5 separate regions of the Homo sapiens genome follow, and regions 2, 3, 4 and 5 are each linked to region 1. The links are contacts of gene promoters, found by promoter capture Hi-C in blood cells and fetal thymus (Javierre and others, 2016). All regions are on one chromosome and are shown on one strand. Each heading gives the region's core, a stretch centred on a gene start or on the middle of the fragment in contact. The rest is flanking DNA. Distances are from core to core; before and after follow the strand shown.

The links. The method cuts DNA at HindIII sites, captures the fragments that hold promoters and counts their contacts. A CHiCAGO score of 5 or more calls a contact.
Region 2: a contact is called between a fragment that was not itself captured here and the fragment with the promoter of DOCK8 in region 1, in 2 of 17 cell types (neutrophils and monocytes). The highest score is 14.4, in neutrophils.
Region 3: a fragment that was not itself captured here is called in contact with the fragment with the promoter of DOCK8 in region 1 in 2 of 17 cell types (neutrophils and monocytes); the score reaches 12.6 in neutrophils.
Region 4: a fragment that was not itself captured here is called in contact with the fragment with the promoter of DOCK8 in region 1 in 1 of 17 cell types (neutrophils); the score reaches 13.7 in neutrophils.
Region 5: a fragment that was not itself captured here is called in contact with the fragment with the promoter of DOCK8 in region 1 in 2 of 17 cell types (neutrophils and total CD8 T cells); the score reaches 14.3 in neutrophils.

What each region holds. Positions count from the first base shown.
Region 1 is chr9:213,413-216,114 of GRCh38, forward strand. It overlaps DOCK8 (dedicator of cytokinesis 8), which reads left to right and starts at 1,453. Exons shown (of 48, transcript NM_203447.4): 1 at 1,453-1,617. The coding sequence starts at 1,565. DOCK8-AS1 (DOCK8 antisense RNA 1) reads right to left here and starts at 2,338. Exons shown (of 1, transcript NR_160804.1): 1 at 45-2,338. RefSeq lists silencers at 1,208-1,457, 1,468-1,517, 1,568-1,617, 1,788-1,927. The HindIII fragment of the contact is 3,855 bases long and covers 1-2,702 here.
Region 2 is chr9:445,014-447,715 of GRCh38, forward strand. DOCK8 (dedicator of cytokinesis 8) reads left to right here. Exons shown (of 48, transcript NM_203447.4): 44 at 1,357-1,593. Among named protein-coding and RNA genes, the nearest start is that of DOCK8-AS2, 24 kb to the right of the region's middle. The HindIII fragment of the contact is 1,160 bases long and covers 785-1,944 here.
Region 3 is chr9:424,979-427,680 of GRCh38, forward strand. DOCK8 (dedicator of cytokinesis 8) reads left to right here. Exons shown (of 48, transcript NM_203447.4): 34 at 1,907-2,003. Among named protein-coding and RNA genes, the nearest start is that of DOCK8-AS2, 44 kb to the right of the region's middle. The HindIII fragment of the contact is 3,245 bases long and covers 1-2,702 here.
Region 4 is chr9:407,112-409,813 of GRCh38, forward strand. The region is part of intron 28 of DOCK8 (dedicator of cytokinesis 8); the gene reads left to right. Among named protein-coding and RNA genes, the nearest start is that of DOCK8-AS2, 62 kb to the right of the region's middle. The HindIII fragment of the contact is 4,838 bases long and covers 1-2,702 here.
Region 5 is chr9:345,299-348,000 of GRCh38, forward strand. All of the region lies in intron 14 of DOCK8 (dedicator of cytokinesis 8), which reads left to right. Among named protein-coding and RNA genes, the nearest start is that of DOCK8-AS2, 120 kb to the right of the region's middle. The HindIII fragment of the contact is 966 bases long and covers 902-1,867 here.

The sequences.
Region 1 (2,702 bases), core at 203-2,702:
TGAGCCACATGTGTAATTTTACATTTTTAAAAATGCAAACCACATTTTTAAAAGGGGAAAACAAACAGGTGAAATTAACTTTAATAATATATTTTTTATATCCAAAGTATCATTTAACATGCAATCAACATGAAAATCATTAACAAGACATTTTACACGATGTTTTCTGCGCTGTCTTTAAATTCCAGTGTACATTTTACACATCCAGCAGTGGGCAATTCAGACTAACCATAATGCCGAGTGGTCAATAGCCACATGTGGCTAGTGGCTATCATATTAAATAGTGCAGGTTTGAACCAAAAATACTTCGCTTTGGTTGTTTTTTTTTTTTTCTTTTAGACGGAGACTTGCTCTGTCGCCAGGCTGGAGTGCAGTGGCAGATCTCGGTTCACTGCAAGCTCCGCCTCCCGGGTTCAAGTGATTCCCCTGCCTCAGCCTCCCAAGTAGCTGGGACTAAGGCGTGCGCCACCACGCCCGGCTAATTTTTTGTATTTTAGTAGAGACGGGGTTTCACCACGTTGGCCAGGATGGTCTCGATCTCCTGACCTCGTGATGCGCCCGCCTCGGCCTCCCAAAGTGCTGGGATCACAGGCGTGAGCCACCGCGCCCGGCCTGCTTTGGTATTTTTTAAGAGCAAGTTGGTAAATGGAGGCATTATATGGAGAGTGCTCGAGTATATATAGCACAGGTTAGAGCAGCACGCCGGCACCTTGAAGCGAACACGGGCTCCTCCACTCCCGTCAACACTGGGACTTTTCTGTTTTTATCTTGAGTTTGAGGCCGGGCTTCTTAGCAGACCTCAGTCTGAAACTGAAATAAACCTGGACGCAGCGTACCCTTGAATCGCAAGAACGCCGCCTTCAGTGTTTCTCCGGAGAAAAGCATTCACGCCAGGTTGTGACGAAAACATTTTTTGAGAACTCATAATGTTTATTCCTTGGATGAATCCATTATATTTATTTAGTGTCTCAGGAAGGATGATGGGCATATTGCTTGCAAAAGTTGATTTGAATCCTGATAGATTCCACTAACTTTTTTGTCTTTTTTTTTGGCTGCCTTCTTCGAGAATGGTGTCAACCCTTAATAACACCTAGCCTTACGAATCCCTGGGGTGATTCCCGACCTCGCCAGCTTTGTGGGGCTCCCCCGACTTGCCTACATTCCCTGGCAGCCTCGCAGCTTCGGGCAGATGGAGCTTCCGGCCTGCGCGCAGTGGTCGCCTGTCGTCCGCCCGCGCTCCCTTCGGCCGGAGGTCGGCGGCCCCGGGCAGAGCGCGCCGTCTGCCCCAGTATCGGGAGGCCAGTTCCGCGCTGGGCCCACGCCCTCCTCGCCCGCCGCTGCCTGCGCGCCAGGCCGGGTGGCGGAGCCGGCCGTCGCTGCTCCGAGCTCGGACCCTCCCCCGGGGTGATTTCGGCTTAGAAGGTGGAAATGCGGAAGTTTCCAGCGCCGACCGACAGACGAGGTTTGCGCTTGGCTGGGCATGTTCCGCGGCTACTCTGCGGCGCGCCAGGCCCCCGCTTTCCGCACCCCGCGACCCTAGAAGCCACCGAACCGCCGGCGGGCCATGGCCACTCTGCCGAGCGCAGAGCGCCGCGCGTTCGCGCTCAAGATCAACAGGTAAGACGCCCCCCGCGGCGCGCAGGTTGCGGCCGGACAGCCCAGCGCTGGTGTGAAGCGGAGCTTCGCTGCAGGGGCCGAGGCCGGACGAGTCCATTCGCGTCCGCGGCGGGGCGCGCCTGAGACCTGGGGCGCCCGGTTCCCGAGGCTGCGGCGGTGGAGCCGCTGGACGCGCGGCGGCTCCTGCGCTGGGCCCGGCGAGGTCCTCCCCAAGAATCTCGGTGCTCCTGGATGTCCTCAGCCGCCGGGGATCCCTTCCCCGAACAACCTCGCCCGCTCCGCCCTCCAGGTTCTTACAGGTGGCCGGGTCCCAGAAGGGTGATAGGCGCCTGGGTAACCGTGTTGGGCGCGCCACGGAGTGTCTCATAAACGGCTCCTTCCTTTGAGGCAAGTCTGAGCGCGGGGGGAAGAAGTGAAGTGGCTGAAATTAGAGTTGCGTTTGAGGCAGGCTGCAAGCCTTCTGTCGTCCTGAGCAAGGCTCCGTCCTCGCCTGCTTCATTATTCCAGAAAGAGCTTGGCTCCTGGTGGCATCGCTATTTTTATACCCTGGTCCAAAGGAGCCATGAAGTGGAAAAAGTGATTTTTTAAAAAATCTACACTTAAATAAACCAAAAGAAATGGCCTGTGGCTGACATTTTGAGATTTACAGAACTCCAGCAAAAAGCTAAGGACTGGGGGATCCCAACTCACCATCCAATTCCTAATCAAAGTTGCACAAACTAAATATGTAAGCACATTTACTGCTCAAAGTTCTCAGTAAAGGTGCTTTAACTGCAGTTTTTCCTCCACTAAAAACTGCTGACAAGTAATTGGGACATTTTTGTCTTGCCCTGAGAAAGCTAGACTGTCTAGTTAAAAGATAATAGGAAACTCATTCTAAAGTGTCAACTTATTCTATTGCCCACAGGGCTGTCCGATTTGTTAATCTTCACTTAGCTGAGCCTGTGAAAGGTGGATTCCACCGTAGGTTCATCTTTGTGCTGTTAGTGTGTGAAGAGGTTTGAACAAGGAATTAAAAGCCTAGAAAAACAAGGCGATAAGGTCTTCTAGAGGGCATATCGAGCTTTATTGACGATTTTATTTCC
Region 2 (2,702 bases), core at 115-2,614, 230 kb after region 1:
AGGGGAAGAATTGGCCAAATTGAAGAGTTTGTTTTTCTACATTTTTCAGAATGCTTTCTCACTTAAGACACATTCCCTAGCCTCGGCTTGAAAGCAGTGGCTGTGGTAAGAGTTTAACTAATCTTCAGACACACATGTCTGGGAGATGGAGTTGGCCGTGTGCCCACAGTGATCTGTACATAGCACAAGCTGTGTAAAATGTGACCTCCCTCAGCCAAGGTGCCCTTTTCCCCTCTTTTAAAATTCCCAGGGTAGGTTGTGAGAGTTTGGAATGAGAGTCTGAACCCAGAGTTACAACCAGATTTCATTATACTAAGTCGTGATTTACAGTCTGAGGTCAGTGACCCCACTCATCCCTTTCAGTGGGTGAGTGTCCCAGCATCTGAACTCATGGTCACTTTTTTTCCTAAGAGATTGTCGTCTTTAATGAGTACTTATTCGCTCTGTGTTTGAGGGTGGAGGTGATGTGAGTGTGTGTTTAAATGAGGCCTAGGCAGTAAAATTCAGTTTTGGTGTTTAGTTCTATGAGTTTTGACAAACACATGTGACTACCTTCATAACCAAGATATAGAACAGATCCACCACTCCAAAATACTTCCCGTGCCCATTGGTAGTCCATGTTGCAATAGTTCCTTCCTTTCCGTTGCTGAGTAGTATTCTGTTGTGTGACTACCTCACCATTTGCTTGTTAATTCCCCACTGGAGTGACATTTGGGTTGTTTCTAGTCTTTGTTATGAATAAAGTTGCTGGAGACATTTGTGTACAGGTTTTTGTATGGACATAAGCTTTCATTTCTCTCCTGTACACACATAGGAGTGGGGTTGCTGGGTCCAATGGTAGTGCAGTTTAACTGCATAAGAGACCGCCAGCTTCTTCTGCAAAGTAGCTGTGCATTTTGCATTCCCACCCTCTGTGTATGACAGCTCTAGCTGATCTCCATCCTTGCCAGCACTTGATATTGTTAGTTTTCTTTAGTTCGGCCATTCATGCTTCCTCATAACTGTGAGGTAGTCATTGTCATTCTGTAAAGGAAAGTTTGTCTCTTTGGAATAGCAGTTTGCAAACTCTCATACCAAGGCTTCCACTGTGGATCAGTTTGCTCTGCTAGGAAGGTGCGGCCGGTGGCCCTCACTCTCCCCACAGGCACATTCCCCTCTCCCTCCTTGCAGCCCCTTCTGTCCTTGGGGGTGGAGAGGAGGAACTTCTGCTGGCCACATTCTCCCCTGCATCTGTAGCTTTTCTGCACTGGGCAGGGCGGTGCCGGCACGCCGTGTTCCTGCATGCCCCTCCATTGCGTCAGGGATGGCCGTTTGCAGAATAGCTCATCTTCTCCCTCCGTGCCTTTTCCCCCTTAGGCCTACATACAGATCACTTTTGTGGAGCCCTACTTTGATGAGTATGAGATGAAAGACAGGGTCACATACTTTGAGAAGAATTTCAACCTCCGGAGGTTCATGTACACCACCCCGTTCACCCTGGAGGGGCGGCCTCGGGGAGAGCTGCATGAGCAGTACAGAAGGAACACAGTCCTGACCACTATGCACGCCTTCCCCTACATCAAGACCAGGATCAGCGTCATCCAGAAGGAGGAGGTAATGCACCCAAGGGATTGGCCACCACTGGATGAGTGGGCTGGGTGGCCTCCCAGGAGGACCCACAAACCTCTTTCACAGTGGATTGGACTGAAAACAAGGAGGGATGCACTTGAAATATGATTATATGGTTGTCCTTTCACTCTCATAGTGCCAGAAAATCCCATTTAGGCAGCTACATATTTTATAGCACTATTGTATATTAAATATTTAATATTTTAAAGTTATATCTTTAGTATAAGTGTGTTTATGTATTTAATTATAATATTTAATATATATTTCAATTATAAACTTGTACAACAGATATATTTACCTTTTAAATATTTTATATAAAATTTTTCTATATTTCAAAGCTTAGAGGTGATTCAAGCATAGTCGTGCTGTTAATTATTGGAGACGGGACCTGCACGTGGGCAGCCCCAGTGAGGCGGTGGTGTGCTGTGGGAAAGGGCCGTGTAAGGTAGACAAGTTCACTGACTAGCTTCTAGTCCTAGCTTCCTCCTGTGATTTTAAACAAGCTACGTACCTTCAGTTTCTTCATCTATGCATTAGCAGGAAAGACCTCTAAGTACAGTACAAGATTATACTCATTTTATTAATAAAAGGACTGGTCAAGAAGGTCTCTCAAACCACAGAATTGTTCAAAATTCTACACACCATAAACAACTTATTATTCTTTAAAACACATATATATACACTTATTTGTCGTCCTTTTTATGCAGGGCCACAGACTTCTCTGTGACTGTGGGTTTGCTGATCACAATTCAGCATTTTCTTTTATAAACCACACCCGTAGTGCTTTGTCCATGATTTTCAGTTTTGCTTTGTGTAAGCAGAGTGAGAGCTTAAAGATCCTTGTTAAACAATTTGAGAGCAGAAGCCTTCTGGATGTTTATGATGTTTTTCTCCCCGAGACTTTGACAGCAGTCTTGTGCACACCTAATATGACAGGAATTTTTATAGCAACTCACTTTCATAATATCTTGTCCAACCATTTGGCTTGGTTTTCATAGAAAGAAATCTTTTTCTTTCCACACCCATGGTTCATCAGTTTCTCCATTATCTAATTAGATTGGGTCATTAAAATAACAAGTATAACAGGCATAATC
Region 3 (2,702 bases), core at 113-2,612, 210 kb after region 1:
GAAAAATACGCACCAGATTTTGAAGGCTTATTGTGAATAAAAGAATAAAATATTTCACTAGTAATTTTTATATTGCTTACATGGAGACAGTATTTTTTATCTTTTAGGATAAACAAAATATATTAAAAATAATTTCACTTTTTCTTTACTTTTTTAATGTGGTTACCACAATATATAAAATGACATATGTGGCCCCCATTGTTTCTACTAGACAGCATTGCTCTAAATTTAAAACTAAACTAGCAGTCAATTAATTAAAAAGGATGATAAGGGGCCGGGCACAGTGGCTCACACCTGTAATCCCAGCACTTTGGGAGGCCGAGGTAAGTGGATCACGAGGTCAGGAGATCGAGACCATCCTGGCTAACGCGGCGAAACCCCGTCTCTACTAAAAATACAAAAAAGTAGCCGGGCGCGGTGGCGGGCGCCTGTAGTCCCAGCTACTCGGGAGGCTGAAGCAGGAGAATGGCGTGAACCCGGGAAGTGGAGCTTGCGGTGAGCCAAGATTGCGCCACTGCACTCTGCACTCCAGCCTGGGCGACAGAGGGAGACTCCGTCTCAAAAAAAAAAAAAAAAAAAAGGATGATGAGGTTAAAATGGTAAATTTGATGTTATGTGTACTTTATCACGATATAAAAATTTGATGGCTCATGCCTGTGGTCCCAGATACTCAGGAGGCTAAGGCAGAGCATCACTTGAGCCCAGGAGTTCGAGGCTTCAGTGAGCTATGATAGTGCCACTGCACTCTAGCCTGGGTGATAGAGCAAGACCCTGTCTCTAAGGAAAAAAAAAAAAAAAAACTTTTAGATTTCATTTATTTTACACATATATTATCACTTGGAAAATGAGAAAAAGTGTCAAGTGGCTTGGGACCAGAGAGCCTATCCTAAACATGAAAACAAGTAAAACACACAGAAGTACTTATTTTTTGAGTCCTCAGTGGTATGTAAGCAGCTGCAGTGCCCCCATTATTAGGTTAATGGGACGCAAGAACAGGTAAGTGGTAACCCTGGCCCAGGACATATGAGCTGATATAATGATACCCCAACCCCATGGTAACATCTTGGCTACTGAGGCATCTTGGTAAAGTCAATTCTTCATACCTCCCTTTCCTTGCAACTAGATTTGGATGATGATACAAAATATCCCTTTACAGCTTCACTTAGATTTCATAAGAATGGATGGGCTAGCAAAAAAAACCATTCTGATTCCTTAAAGTGAAACCTAATAGAGGAGCGAGCACCAGGCAATTTCCCATTCCCTAGTGGGCAATGACCAGTAATGTCCGGCAGGATATTAGATCACCTGCCCTACAGGAATACAGTCTTGTTTCCCAATGGAAAAGGACGAAAGACCCCACGCACTTGGCTGAGCAACCTCAAGGTGATCTTTGGGAAGTTAAGAGGCTGACTCTCCCCTGACTTGGCTCTGAAGCTCCACCCTTTCCTAACCCAGCCGCATCACTGCCAAGTTCACATCACATCCAGTCTCACTCTCTCTCGCATGTTGCAGGGGCTTCCCCTTACTCAGATCTAGCAATGGTTTTCATGCGTGAAATACAGCCATGGCCCTGAGGCTTTAGGCAACAATCTGAGAGGGGAGCTTAATTGCTAGTAGCAACTAATAACTGCTTCTCTACCCATAGTGTTATTTTTATAATTGTCCTCATCATTATTAATAATAGTGGGGATGAGGATGACCAGGAAACCTTACCTAGACAGTTGTTTCGACAAGACATGAATCACAGAAGGCACCTGCACTGTAGTTACTCAGGGCCAGTTGCTCTGTTTTCATTTCAAGGTTGACTATTTTGGAGATTTCTTTACACCTTGGTGTATAGATTGCCATCATGGGAACCTGGCCAGGTTTGACATGCGCTTTAATTTGACCTCTTGTTGTTTCCTAGAACAAAGGCCGAGTTAGATCAAGAAGCCTTGATCAGTGGCAATCTGGCTACAGAAGCACATTTAATCATCCTGGATATGCAGGAAAACATTATCCAGGTGAGGAAAACAAACACCCAATCTGATTTGTTGGCCATGAATATGTTTACTAGAATAAGGACTTCTTTATGCAAAATTGTGAAAGACATAAATGTGATCCCATAGTACCTTTTTTAAAAAAATGAAGTTGAGAAGTTTACTATTTACAACAGTGTCTACCTTATAAATTCCAGAGATACCAAACATTCTTCTGGCTTCTTTGACTTAGGGCTTACTTGGAGAGGGTTAGGTGTTTGGCCAGCTGACCCTCTTGGTTAAATCTGTGTGAGTATGTACCAAGTTTATAATATGGATGTTGGGTTTATCGTTTAGTATCTAGAACAGTAGTGGTAAGTAGAATTTTTTCTGATGGGTCAACTCCAGTTGAATGATGGTCACTGTCTGATATGGGAGCTATGATTATGACTAGGCTAGGTAAAAAGAGTGCTAAATTTGACAAATGATGTCTTCTTTGGACTTAAATTTGTTAAGGAAAGTCATTTGTACCATGAATTTGCCATCCCTGCTGTAGAAAAATATAGCTTTGTGAACTTTGTACCATACTAATTTTATCTTCTATGTGATTATTTCCACAAATTCCCAAGCTGTCTAGGTAATAATGAGTTTTTAATTACCCTGAAAAATGAGTTCTTACATGTTTCCATTGAGAAGTCATTCATTAGAGTAGGTCCAGGATTGCTTTTAGGGCTAGAAGAAATA
Region 4 (2,702 bases), core at 1-2,500, 190 kb after region 1:
CAGATGTTCTTTAATAAAATTTGCAGTCTAGCTTCTCACACTTGGTAAAAAACTCTACTGTAGTTGACCAGTTCTGAGGAGTAGAAACATCTGTCTTGAGAATATGGTACCCATAAGCACAAGGCACAAGAAAGGCCTTTCTTGTGTAGAAAGGCACCAGGGATGGGTAAGAACTACAAAATGACTTTTCTTGGTCAACTATTTCAGTGGAATTTACCAGTTCTGCTATAGCAGGTTTCCCAAGGATGCTTTGATTAGTGAACTCCCTAGGAGCAAAGCCATTTTTAACAAAGGGGATAGCATGCAGAGGCAACCACAAGATGTCACTTGGTTCAAAGCTGATGAAGGAAATAATGGCTGCTGAGAAGGCAGCTGTCCCATGCCCAGATTAGGTTTCTTGCAGACAGTGCTTCTCAGGCCAAGAGACACCACACATCCAGGGCTTCTGAATCCTTTTACCTCTTATCTATCTGATTACTCAGGGACATGTGGCAGTATCTAGCCTAGAAGTCAACAGACAGAGAGGTAGACCACCCCCTTCTTTCCTTCTCTCCCTATGCTCCGTGAGCTCATGGAGTCAGAAACCCACAGCCTATCTGATTGGACTGAAAAAGATAATGCCTTCTAAAATATTATTCATTCCGTTCAACAATTATTGAATGCCTTCCATGGGACAGACACAGTTAGGTGTTAGAGTACATCAGAGATATATCAGTGCACAAAACAGACAAAATTCGCTGCCCCTCAAGAGCTCACCATCCAGGGACTCAGATTCAAAGATGATTAGGATTGCAAAGTAGTTGAGATTCAACACTTCTGGTGTTTAGATTAGGCATACAGAATTGCAGGAACTTGCCCACTATTCCATAACAGAGAACGAAATCTAAAGCCATGGTCTTCCCAGTCCCTTCCCAGGACCCACTCTCCTATACCAAACCATCTCCCTGCACAGGGAACCTGTTCCCATGACTCCTATGCTAAAGAGGTTTCCAGAATAATGTTTGCTAATTAATGGTAGCATTGCTGTATGTTATGGATGGATTTTTATCTAAATGGAATTTCTCAAGTTCTCTCAAAGTGCTTACAATTTAGTGAAGGAAACAGGAGGTTCCTGCATGAAACAAATACAGGAGCACATCGAGTTCGTGCAACTGCAACAGTCACATGTGTCCCAAGCTATGTACCCAGGCTGACACCGCTGAAGTGACTCTATGTCTGCGTCTCCTGGCAGGATAGTGTGGGGAATCTCATGCTTTTAGCTCTCAATTCTGCCTCCTTCCAGATAAACTGGCCTGAGTATATCCTTTGAGAACTTCACTTTCCATGGCTTCAATTCTATCTTCTCTTCTCAACTCTAACTAAATTTCTCCCAATTATCTCAGTAGAATGTTCTACCCTACAACTAACATAAATTTCCACAGCAACAAAAAGTGCACCGAACACTTATGCTAATAAGTAAGATACTGAGAAGAAAGTTTGAACACAAAGAAAATTGCCTTCATGCACAAACATGTACATACATTTTCTTAGTTGTCCTTTAATAGCAGTACTTTAAGTGATTTCTAGAAACATCTTTAGTATTTACAATAGCGTAGTTTCTATTTTCTATTTTCATTCTAGCTGGAAACAGCCATGACATTCTGTTCTGGATTCCTTGTAAAATTGTTGCTGTTATATTACTAGCAACAAGGTAGAGTATATTCAGAGATAATCATGTAATTATGTTTAATCAGGTAGATACATTCTTCAAACACACACACACACACACACACACACGCACACACGCGCGTGCACATGCACACACACAGTACCCTTTCTCCCCCAAAAGAGTAATTAACAGTGTAACTCCTTTGGCAACACAGTAATCCCTGATTGCTGGGTTGTCAGTTACTCTCCTGGAAAGTCATTAGATACACTGTCACAACTTCATCATGTAAGCTAAAACCTCAGAAAAATGTCATGCTTCAACAATACTTCCTATTGATCAGCACTTCCTTTTTTTTTTTCTTTTGCTTCCAAGACAGTTGGTAGACTTGCCAACACCTGTACATCCATGGGGCAAGGGCCAGAAGGACGCATCTCAGTACCTGAACCCCTAGGGAGCTACAGCTCCAGTTTCCACTGGGTTTCCCTTGGATCTCTGACACCTGGGTATATCCACAAGTGTCTATGCATCGTTAAATCCACAGTGTTTTTCAAGCATTTAGAAATTGTCTATCATCTTTGTGTTAAGCCAGCAAATTGCAATGCCTAATTCAAAACACAACCCATTGCCGGGACCACAGACTAAGAACAAGAAAAACTTTTGAAATGCAATTTACAATTATCTTACTTTAGCCACAGTGCAAGAGTCTGAGTCATTTAAAATTTTGGTTAATATTTTCTATATAACGTTGAATTCTGATGTAGCCTTATTTTGTTTGAAAGAAAAAAATGTATATATATGTATATATTTTTTAAATCTGGATTCTTTTTTTATTATTATCATACTTTAAGTTCTAGGGTACATGTATACAACATGCAGGTTTGTTACATATGTATATATGCGCCATGTTGGTGTGCTGCACCCATTAACTCGTCATTTACATTAGGTATATCTCCTAATGCTGTCCCTCCCCACTCCCCCCACCCCATGACAGTCCCCGGTGTGTGATGTTCCCACCTATGAGTGAGAACATGCGGTGTTTGGTTTTCTGTCCTTG
Region 5 (2,702 bases), core at 135-2,634, 130 kb after region 1:
TTGAAATATGGCTTGGCTTATAAAAAGTTGATCTGCCTGGAGCTTGTAGCTAACACCTCTGTCGGGCCAAACAATAAATGCTTACACTGAGAAAGCCAGGTTTGGGATTTCAAATTAATGTGCCCTTAACATAAACTGCAGAGCCCCCCTGGGTGGAGGGAACTATTACCTGGTTCTAATAGCAGATGTTTTCTGGCCTTGAGTGCCAGTGGTAACCAGAGTCACACATTTTAGGATTTTGGTATTGATGAGGGTTTCAGCTGAATATTACTTGAGTTGAACTCCAGTTATCTTTACCTGTCTTAAAGGAGCAGCTGCCATAGTGCCTCAGGTAAAGTTGGCTTGGGATAGGCTGGCATTGCCTTCCAGTCCCCAGCCTCACCTTCCTCCCACCTCTTCACTGCCTCTTTTCTTTGCCCTGCCCCTTCAGGTGTCCTGCGTGGGGCACCATTCGAGTTGCATTCTAGTGTATTAGGTTGGTGCAAAAGTAATTGCGGTAATGTGTGTGTGCTGCCCCGTGTCTCTACCTTATTCAAGTTTCTTTAAGGAACAGCTGTAGATGAGTTCTGGTAGAACTGGGTAGTGCTCCCAGAAGTATCCCCGTGGGTCCGTGAGGGTTGGGCATTCATAAAATAAATCCTTGCTCTAACGATAGAGACCAACTTCTAGAGCCAGAAGTGCTCATCCCAGGAATGACCAGGGGCTCCCAAACCAGCGGCTCGGGCCCTCTGCAGTGCCATGTGCAGCCTCTGTGGGTTAGAGGCATGGAGCTAGAGCAGGGTCCTCTGAACCAGAGCCAGGCAGGACACTCTGAGAAATCACAAGCAGAAGGACAGCAATTCTGAAAGCAGAGCAGAACAGCTGGAAAAACTGAGCTGATGAAAAGGATTATCCGAATCCAAGCTTGGCGTTCCTTGCTCTGTGTCCAGATTAAGAAAATGCTAGTGGTTTGCCTAGGAACACATTTGCACCAACTCCTGGCTTATTTTCCATGTGACCCAACAGCTGGTACTAGAGACACCAGCTGCTTTCTGGTGGGGGCAGAATGAAAACAGCATGGGCTGAGGCCAAGGCCCAGCAAGGTCTTCAAGGGCATCCTATCCTGCGGCCGCCAGAGGGGTATGTGCGGAGATCACAGGCAATGAGGTTGTAATGAGCTGTTAAGCTCCCTGCCGTCCCTTTAATGGGTGATTACAGTAAAAAGAGCCACATAAAGTACGTTTTCATCTCTCACTTCAGCCCCCGAGAGCCTCTGAGGTCTTGTTTATCCAATTATCAGACTTGCTGTGGAGGACGGTGCTTGCTGAGAACAAGCATATCAGTTGGAACATGATTTCTCTGATGGATAATTAGCTGTTTTCAGGACTCCTCCTATTCAGCTGAATGTTCTCAGACCAGAAGTCTGATCTGGCCTAACGGGGATGTGCTCCCATATCGCAGTGGAGTCTTAAGGAGTACTACCCACCTTCTCTTCTGCGGGGGAAAAGGAATGGCGTAGCATGCATGCAGGACCTGACCGGAAGGAATGTCTGCGAGTTATGATTTAGTGACTAGAACTTCTAAGGAAAGAAATGAACCAGAAATAACTGCAAACGAAGTGGTTAGGAAGAGGGGCAGGACATGGGGAGTATCCTTGAAAGGGACTTAATTTCATCCAAGGAAATAGGTTCCCAGTTTAAGCCCAGTTAGCTCTGTATTCAGAGTGGATCTTCTCAGTGCTAGGTGAAGGAAGGGTGGTTGTGCATCAGAGTAAGTGTCCAGCCCCACCCTGAAGACTCCCATTCAGGTGGTCTGGGATGGGGCACTGGTGGTCTGACACTCTCTTTTGTTCAAAATCAAAGCGTCCCCCTCCTTCTCATGGAAGGGAAGCTTCCACCAACCCTTAATGAGTTCCTGTACCATATGGAGTTGTCAAATGCTCCATACCGGGCACAGCGGCTCACACCTGCAATCCCAGCACTTTGGGAGGCCGAGGCGGGAGGATCCATTGAGCCCAGGAGTTCAAGACCAGCCTAGGCAACATAGCAAGACCCTGTCTCTACAACAACAACAAAAAAATTAGCCAGGGGTGGGGGTCCACACCTGCAGTCCCAGTTACTTGTGAGGCTGAGGTGGGAGGATCGCTTGAGCCAGGAAGGTCGAGGCTACAGTGAGCCGTGATCATGCCACTGCCCTCCAGCCTGGGCAACAGAGTGAGACTCTTTCAAAAAACAAAAACAAAAAACTCTGTCCTAAGTATCAGATGATGCGGAAGCCCAGTACTTGGTTTTACTAGGCTTAGCAAGCAGTCGCTTATGGAACAGAAGCTTTTATAAACAAACCATGTAGTTAGGAAGGGCAGTGGCAGCCCAGGCAAAATCTAGTCATTTGAATTAGCCAAGGAACGGAGACAAAGACAAAGTGAATTTCTGGTGCTAGTTGCAACTTGGTCTCGATAATAAATCAGGAACACAATCCCCACATTCCTAATGCCTTGCTCCAAAACTCAGCAATCCTCCTATTTGTAAGAATGAAAAAATTCAGGAGGGAACCAATTGCCTAAGGTTATGACAGCAAAGCTACCGTTCCAGTATAATATTCAGCCACTAGAGGACACAATTCACTCACTTTCTAGATTCAGACACACGACTACCTTTTTCGTTACAAAACATATGAAGTCGTGATTTATGAAAGTAGGACACATATTGTATTTTTTGCCCTTG